Linked DNA regions of Homo sapiens: region 2 is linked to region 1. Evidence: promoter capture Hi-C in 16 types of primary human blood cells and fetal thymus (Javierre and others, 2016). All regions are on one chromosome and are shown on one strand. The core of a region is centred on a gene start or on the middle of the fragment in contact, and the rest is flanking DNA. Distances in the headings are between cores, read along the strand shown.

Evidence for each region. The method cuts DNA at HindIII sites, captures the fragments that hold promoters and counts their contacts. A CHiCAGO score of 5 or more calls a contact.
Region 2: a fragment that was not itself captured here is called in contact with the fragment with the promoter of PDPN in region 1 in 2 of 17 cell types (total B cells and naive B cells); the score reaches 5.8 in total B cells.

Annotation. Positions count from the first base shown.
Region 1 is chr1:13,582,206-13,586,113 of GRCh38, reverse strand. PDPN (podoplanin) reads right to left here and starts at 2,282. Exons shown (of 6, transcript NM_006474.5): 1 at 2,014-2,282. The coding sequence starts at 2,080. RefSeq lists an enhancer at 1,841-2,379. The HindIII fragment of the contact is 6,524 bases long and covers 519-3,908 here.
Region 2 is chr1:13,863,093-13,867,000 of GRCh38, reverse strand. No RefSeq gene overlaps it. Among named protein-coding and RNA genes, the nearest start is that of PRDM2, 160 kb to the right of the region's middle. The HindIII fragment of the contact is 401 bases long and covers 1,614-2,014 here.

The DNA of each region.
Region 1 (3,908 bases), core at 1,033-3,532:
CCCAAAACGTGCCTTCCTGATGAAAGTTCAGCATGAGGGTGGCGCCTGACAATGGAAAAAAATGCCAGATGTGTGGACAACAGACCTCCTTTGAATCCACTAACACCCAAAGGGATGACACATGGGACCAGATTATAAAACTGAACCAGATTATAACCCTGGAGGAGGGAAACCCAGTAGGGCGTAGGATCTTATGAAAAGGATCATAAAATTCATCACCATAATTACCCCCCAGCCCAGCTCCCCAACAAAAGCCCACAATAGCTTCGCTCAATGATGTTATTCATCCATATTCAAGTCGCCTCGCTCATTATTCTCAGACAAAAACCCTGCTGGGCCTCTGCTCCTCTGGCAGCCAGGCAACTCAGCACCCACCCTCACTCAGCCAGCCCCGCATACCACTTCTTTCTTTAGTAGTGGAGTTTCCAGCACCAACGATGGTTTTTCGGTTTTAACGCCATCTTTTAGGAGTACCTTTGACATTCAGGAGCCGGCTGAAGGGAATCACAGCTAAAGCTTCCCTGGGCAAAAACAAAGGATGTTACCCAGCAGCTTTTTCTTTAGCAGGGCTGAGATGCTGAAGTGAGGGCGCTCCCTTGCTTTGCCCTGGTGAGCACAAAACGGTGTCATTTGCACATTGTCTCGCCAAAAAGGAAATGTAACTGAAAATACAGAACTGTATATATTCCAGTGGAAAGAGAAGTTCCAAAGATAGGACTGCTACGAATAACCCACGGCCCCTATAAAAAGAGTTGCTCAGTCCCTTTGAAGCAGACAGCACAGCATAGAGCAGAACTCTGTCATTTCCCTGAGATTGGGTATTTTTGTCTGTGTGGACCATTGTAGGAGGCCAGGTTAGGCGCACCCCTCCTGCAAACCGCTCCCTCTCCAAGAAGTATTCCTCAGGGCCTAGGCCTACCTTGATCCTCAATTTTTGGAAAATGTTTACTTTTCACAGCATAACTCAGCAACCTCCAGCCCCAAAGATCACGAGTTAGGTTACAATTCCTTCAACCAACATTTAGTGAGCAACTACTATGTGCCAGGCATTGTTTTGGCCGTGGGGAATCATGGCTGGATGTAGCTGCGTCCTGCAGAACATATGTTCTATTGAGGAAATATAAAAATAAAAACCCAAGAAAAGAAAACAAAATGTTGACAGATGTCAATGGAGACCACCAACACAGCAACCCAGCGGGAAGAGGTAAGGCTCCAGGAGAGGACAAAGGGTAATGGAAGCTGTGGACGCCCCCACCCCAACATGGGATACAAAATATTTAAAGCCTAAGGAGTCACCAACAGACATTCAGCCACTGATGTTGTTGCCCAAGATGAACACGTGGCTCAAACCCACTTAAACCTCAATGTTCGTAACGCGTAACAATCCTCATGCACTCACACTCCTCGGAAGCCTCCACTTGGATCCTTTCCACACACACTATCCTCTCTAAAGAGGATAAAGGAGGCCTCTTCCAGTCCAGTGACGGGGTGCTGAGTGTGTCCAACAGGCAGGGCGCCAGACTAGGTAGTCCCAAGGGGGACCAGGGCCACCGCAGGGCGGGGAACCCTCCCCTTGGCCCAAGCCCTCCTGAACGTCCCTCCTGATTCTACGAGGCCAGCTTCTCCCGAGGCGTGCGTATTCCTCCAACACACCGCTCTATGGGAAGGAAACCCCAGCCACTGCTGCCAGCAAGCGGGGCTGCCTACTGTGAACCTTCCACCCGATCTCTCTGGTGCTGCCGACTCGGAGGGAGGCCCCCTGTGCTGCCCACCTCGCAGCCTGTGGATTCCGGGGCTCCTCCCGGCACACCCGCGCAGCTGCGTCTTTGGGACCTGGCACCGACTAAGCCGCTGCCTCTCCTCCTCCGGCGCTCAGCCGCCTGACACGCACACACCCTCAGCTCCCCCGCGCTCCCCTGGACAACCTCGAATACCAGGCCCGGGCATTCCAGCAAGTCTCTGCTCGCTCGTCCCCATCAGCGACGGCAGGAAGCCACTTGCGCTGGGTCTTACCTCCTTCTGCCAGGACCCAGAGCGACGCGCTTCCCAAAACGAAGAGCAGAGCTGACACCTTCCACATCGTTCCCGTTGAGTTGTTGCTCTCCTGGGGGCCGAGCAGCAAGATTCTGAGCTGGGGGAAAATTAAAAAGCACCGCGGCCACAGGCCCAGCCTGGAGGAGCGCGACGGTGGGGGGGCCGGAGGGGTGGGAGCAGGAGCCCCGGAGAGGGAGGGTGCCCGAGCTTCCCAGACCCTAGGCAGCCGGACAGCAAACTTTGCAGTTGAGAACTTTCCGAGCGGAGTCAGCATTTATCTCTCCCGAGGAGGCGGGGGAGCGGGGTCGGCCGCAAGGTGGTCTCCGTCCGGGCGCGCTAGGCCCGCCCTCGGGCTCTGTTTGGCCGGCGCCAAAACGATGATCTCAGGCCAGGTTTAAAGTTACAGGGCCGCAGCTGCGGGGGCCGCCAGGACTGCGGGCCCTGGCAAAATGGGCTTTTATTCTGCTCAACAACAGGAGGGAAAGGGACCACATGCAACAAACGGGGTTTTAAAAATTATATATAAATTTTAAAAAACCTATATTTATTATTATTATTTTTTTAAGAGTAAGGCACAAGTCTATGTTTTTCTTGTTATGGGCAGAAGTGAGAAGTAAACTGTTTCTTGAGTGGCCAGTAGTTTTAGAACCAAGCATGGGGTTTTTCCTGTAAATATTGAATTTGATGGCTTAAAAACAAAAAAAGTTGGCCGTCATCTGGGTGGGCCAGAGGCGGCCCGCGCTGGTCAATTGCGCCCTTGTCCCGGGGACCGGAGCGGGCGGGCTCCGGGGGGCTGCCCCAGAGCTGGCTGGTGGGGGAGTTTGGCAGACCGGGTGGCTTTGGCAGTTTTGAAAAAGAGGCTGAACTCCATCCGCCTCTGCCGACCCGGGGATCCAGCGCTGCGATGCTGTGGCCCACCGACGTGCGCAGTTGGATTAGGCCGGGCCAAGCGGTGACCCGTCTGGTCGCCAAACCTGTGTCCCCTTCCAGGCCTGGTTCACCCTCTTTATTCCTGAGTTTGCTCCCATAATCCTCACTTTACTGGTTTAAGCGATCTTGCCTTGATCTCAGGTACCAGATATCAGCAACCAGAGAACTTACGTCTTTTACTTTAATTCCTTCTGAATTGCTGGAATTTAAAAAAATAAGAACAGGAGTTTGGGAAGTGGTCTCTGCTCCACTCCCAGATGCCACAAATTCCATTCAACAAAAGAACCTGAAGACTAACGCTGTCTCAAAGCTCCACATTGCGTGAAAATTGTTTTCAGATGCTTATCTTTGACCCCTCCCCATTATAAATTTACTTTCTAAGAATCACAGGAGAGATTGTTTTAAATAAATGCCCAGTTTCCTGGGTTCCACCCCAAACTCATTAATCAGACCTTTTCGGAATTCCTATTTTAAACCAGTGTCGCTGGAGAACTTGTCCCCATGAACATTTGGCAAACCTTGCCCTTCATCATAGCTTCTCAGCCAGATCTACCTGGGGCACTGGTTATGCAGGTGCAATTCTGTTGTGGGATAGGGAGAGATTCTGCATTTCTAAAGATCTCCCAGGTAACGTCTTGTCCTGGGGCTACAAACAGGAGCTGAGCACCTGAACCTAGAAGATGAGGGGTAGCGGCAACACCCCTAGAGCCAAGGAGTTGGAAATGTAAAGAGAAAACTCGTGATACAGATACTCTTTCTTGAACTGACTTCCCCATCTTGGAGATGCATTTTATGACTCTAGTGTCAATAATGTCTGTTGACAGGAGGAATAGTGCATTGTCTGTTGAGCCTGTTAGATGGAGAATAGATGCACATCTATTCTGCTTATGTGTAACTCCAAGGTCACACACAGAAAGAAAGATGGCCCGCTTTATTCAAAAAGA
Region 2 (3,908 bases), core at 565-3,064, 280 kb before region 1:
TACCTTGACTTAGGACTTTTGACCTCCAGAAATGTGAGAGAATAAGTTTCTGCTGTTTTAAGCCCCCCAGTTTATGAAAATTTGTCGTGGCAGCCCTAGGAAACTAACATAGCCCTTGAATTCCAGAATATGGAGCCAGCTGTTCTCTAGAGCACAAGTCTCAGTGGGGCCTCCTCTACCCCATCTCCAGGCAGACCTGGCTCTCACTGACCTCTTCAATGAGGGTAGCTACAAGAGTAGCTACTACCCAGGGAGAGAGCAGTTGCAGGATTTTTGTGTATAAGTAACTTAGGGCACTACAGCTTCAAAAAGCCTCCTGCCCACACAAGCGCACATGGGTGTAAGGAAGTGGCATTACAAATGGCACAGGGTGGTAAAGGAAGTGATGGTAAGAAGCTGGGAGTAGGATACCTAAGCACTCTGCAGGGCCATGGAGGACTCTTGGAAGAGACAATAGCAGGCAAACTTTTACAGAGTGGAAAAGAAGAGGAGCTGGCTAGGAGGAACGGAGTGATCCTAAGGAGCATAAACAAAGCTTCAAAGACGAAAAAAGAGCATGGTGGGCTAGGAGGGGCATGTGGCATGGAGCAGGTGGAACAGAGCAATGGGCCAAGGTGAGAGGGCCACCCAGGCCATGGTCACATGCTCAGACTCTGTGCAGCTGTGATGGAAGCCACCCAAGAATTAGCCATGAACAGGATATGGGCACGCTTGCATTTTTATGGCTACACACAAGATAGATTCGACTTATTTTTACTTAATGCTCGCTATGTTGACCCCCTAATTGCCTGATGTGTTCTGTAGGATCCCAGGAGGGTCCAACGTTAATTTTTCCTGATTTTTGTTTCAGTTTGAGTGCAATAGTCCCCAATATCACTACATAGCAGTTCCCCCCAAATAATACAAAATATCTTGAGTCCTGATCACTTAACAGGGTGACAAGTACCAGCTGGAGGGAACTGAGGCTCATTAAAGTGAAGGATTTTGGCTAAACTTTCAGTGCACTCATATCTTCACCCATTACCAGAACTACAATCATTCTTAGGGCAGCAAATGAAATAAGCTTTTTCTTCTACTCATCATGGGATTAGATATGGTCCTCGGTCCAGGACTGAAAGCCAATAACTCACTTAGAAGCACCACCAAATGACTGTATTTGGGTATCAGGCAATGACATCCCAAGAAGCTCAATAATACCCAAATTCACTGAGGACCCAAGATGAGCCCATCGTTCAGGCAATCCCCAGCTCAAAAATAGGTTAGTACTAAAGGGTTACTTTTTACTTTTTATTTCTATTTATTTATTTTTTTTGAGACAGAGTCTCGCTCTGTTGCCAGGCTGGAGTGCAGTGGTGCAATCTTGGCTCACTGAAACCTCCACCTCCCAGGTTCAGGTGATTCTCCTGCCTCAGCCTCCTGAGTAGCTGGGACTATAGGCATGCACCACCACGCCCAGCTAATTTTTGTATTTTTAATAGAGACGGGGTTTCACCATGTTGGCCAGGTTGCTCTCTAACTCTTGACCTTGTGATCCGCCGGCCTTGGCCTCCCAAAGTGCTGGGATTACAGGCATGAGCCACCGCACCCAGCCCAAGGGTTAGTTTTTAAAAGCTTTCTTGAGCTATCATTCACATATGTGCAAGTTACCCATTTAAACATACAATTCAATAGTTTTTAGTAAATTCAGAGTTATGTGGCTAACACCACTTCTTCATTTTTAAGAAGCTCAGAATTCACAACACAATTCAATGGGTATTTTTGGATATTGTAGACCCCTATTGGTTCCTAAAAACCAGGGACCCTCTCCTCCAAAAAGTTAGCATGCGTGCCTACACACAAGCACATTTTACACACAGCTTCCCAGGGAGTTCTGGTTCCCCAGAACTAGTTAAATCTCCTTAACCAAATTCTAGTAGCGGGCAAAGTGGTTTCTCGTTCATGTTTACATGAAACTGCCTGAAACTGCCTCCCTACCCCCACAGTAATGAGCTCCTCAGAGAAAAGTACTCAAGCTTGAATGTGCCCAGTGGGAATGGATTGGCCACACTGACTCACTTTACAGGCCCATCTCCAAGTGCTGGTGACTTTGCTCACTGCTGACACTTCAATGCGAACTGCCAGCTCCAGGGCCAAGAAAGTAGAAAATGCTCTTCGTGGCCAGTCCTCGATAAACTGCTATAAGCAAAAGACATACAAATTGTTTTCTCCCCTAAACATTATAATCAAGCTGATGGGTCAAGAACAAATACGCAGTCTAGAATTCAAGATTTCCAAAGTTCTAAGATGCACCAATAAACAGAGTTCAGTGGGAAGAATGATACCTACCTGATTGTAGAGGGATCTTTATATATAAGACACAGGCTTCTGGCTAGTGAACAAAGAGAAGTTATTGGAAGGAAACTGGGAATTTGCAGAACCCACATGAAGTTAGGGAAACCTGGAGTGGAAATCAGCAGTTTGGTGGGCCTGCCCACTTCTGGCTGCGTGGAATCCAAAATCAGTGGCCGGGTACGTGACCCAGTCTTGGCACACCCTCCATCCCACTTGACACTTTGAATCTGCAGAGAGTGGTAGAGACAAAAGGACAATTAAGAATAATCCCACCCCATCTCTACTAAAAATACAAAAAATTAGCCCGTCATGGTGGTGGGTGCTTGTAGTCCCAGCTACTTGGGAGGCTGAGGCAAGAGAATGGCATGAACCCAGGAGGCAGAGCTTGCAGTGAGCTGAGATCACATCACTGCACTCCAGCCTGGGCAACAGAGCAAGACTCCGTCTCAAAAAAAAAAAAAAAAGAGAATAATCCCAAAGTAGCTATGGGGGTGGTTTAATGACATAGCAGCATGTGTCAGCAGCTGCAAATTTGTTCTGGTGGACTGTTTCTATTAAAATCTGATTTTCATGCTTCCTACTTCTTAACACTCTAGAGCATGTTTGGTTCATGCCCAGGTTCTAAGTCTGGTCCTTCAGCCTCCCACCAATTTCTAGTTTCCATATCCTTCCAATACATTCCTTGCTCTTACTTGAGAAAGCCACAGTCAGTACTGTAGCTTGCAGCCAGAACCCTAATTGGTACAAGAACATCTAAGATATCTCTAGGGACTTGGAAGCAGAGACTGCAGAAGCCAACTATACTTATAAAGCATAAGTATCTGATCAGTGAACAGCAGCTGAGATGCATGACTGCCAACCATTTTTTCTGGTGTTGCATCACTCTCAGAATTCAAAGTCTCAGACAAGGGCATCTGACTGACAGAGTTTGGGTCTCCTGCCTACTCCCAGGCTGTATTAGGATGGCATGAGGAAGGAAATGCCCTCTCAGCAACTAAACAGGATGGGAAGAACTGACCTGACTTGTCCTAGCTAAAGCACCCACACAGGGGAAGAAGTAATCCCTGAAAATATCAAGAAATTGTTAGGAAGAGAATATGAGTGCTGTGCTAGCACCATTGCCAGAGTCTATTACACATAATGAAAGTTCATCCTTTGAAAGACTATGAAGCAATTATTCTCCCTATAGTATCCAAGCAAAGACAGGTGCTATATCCTCCAGGTAACTCTGGGCTGAAAACGTATTTCAATAGCTGCAACACATAAAGACTGACCTCACATGCAGAGAGGACTCCAGACATTGATTATATCCTATGCCAGAAACAGGTTCCCAGGGGGCTAGGCTGGAAAATGGAAAAGCTACAAGAAGTAGAATTCCCTAATCCAAACTTGTCTAATTTTTTATTTCTCCCAGATCAGAGTCATTTCTTATCCTTCTTTTACCCTTTTCTAATGTGAAGTGACACCTTCTTCATATAGATTATAAATGACTTGCTATCACATAACAGGTACTGCACAAAGCCATCATTCCCAAATGCCTTGCCCTTCTATTGTGCCTTCTTTCTCAAGAGGTCTTC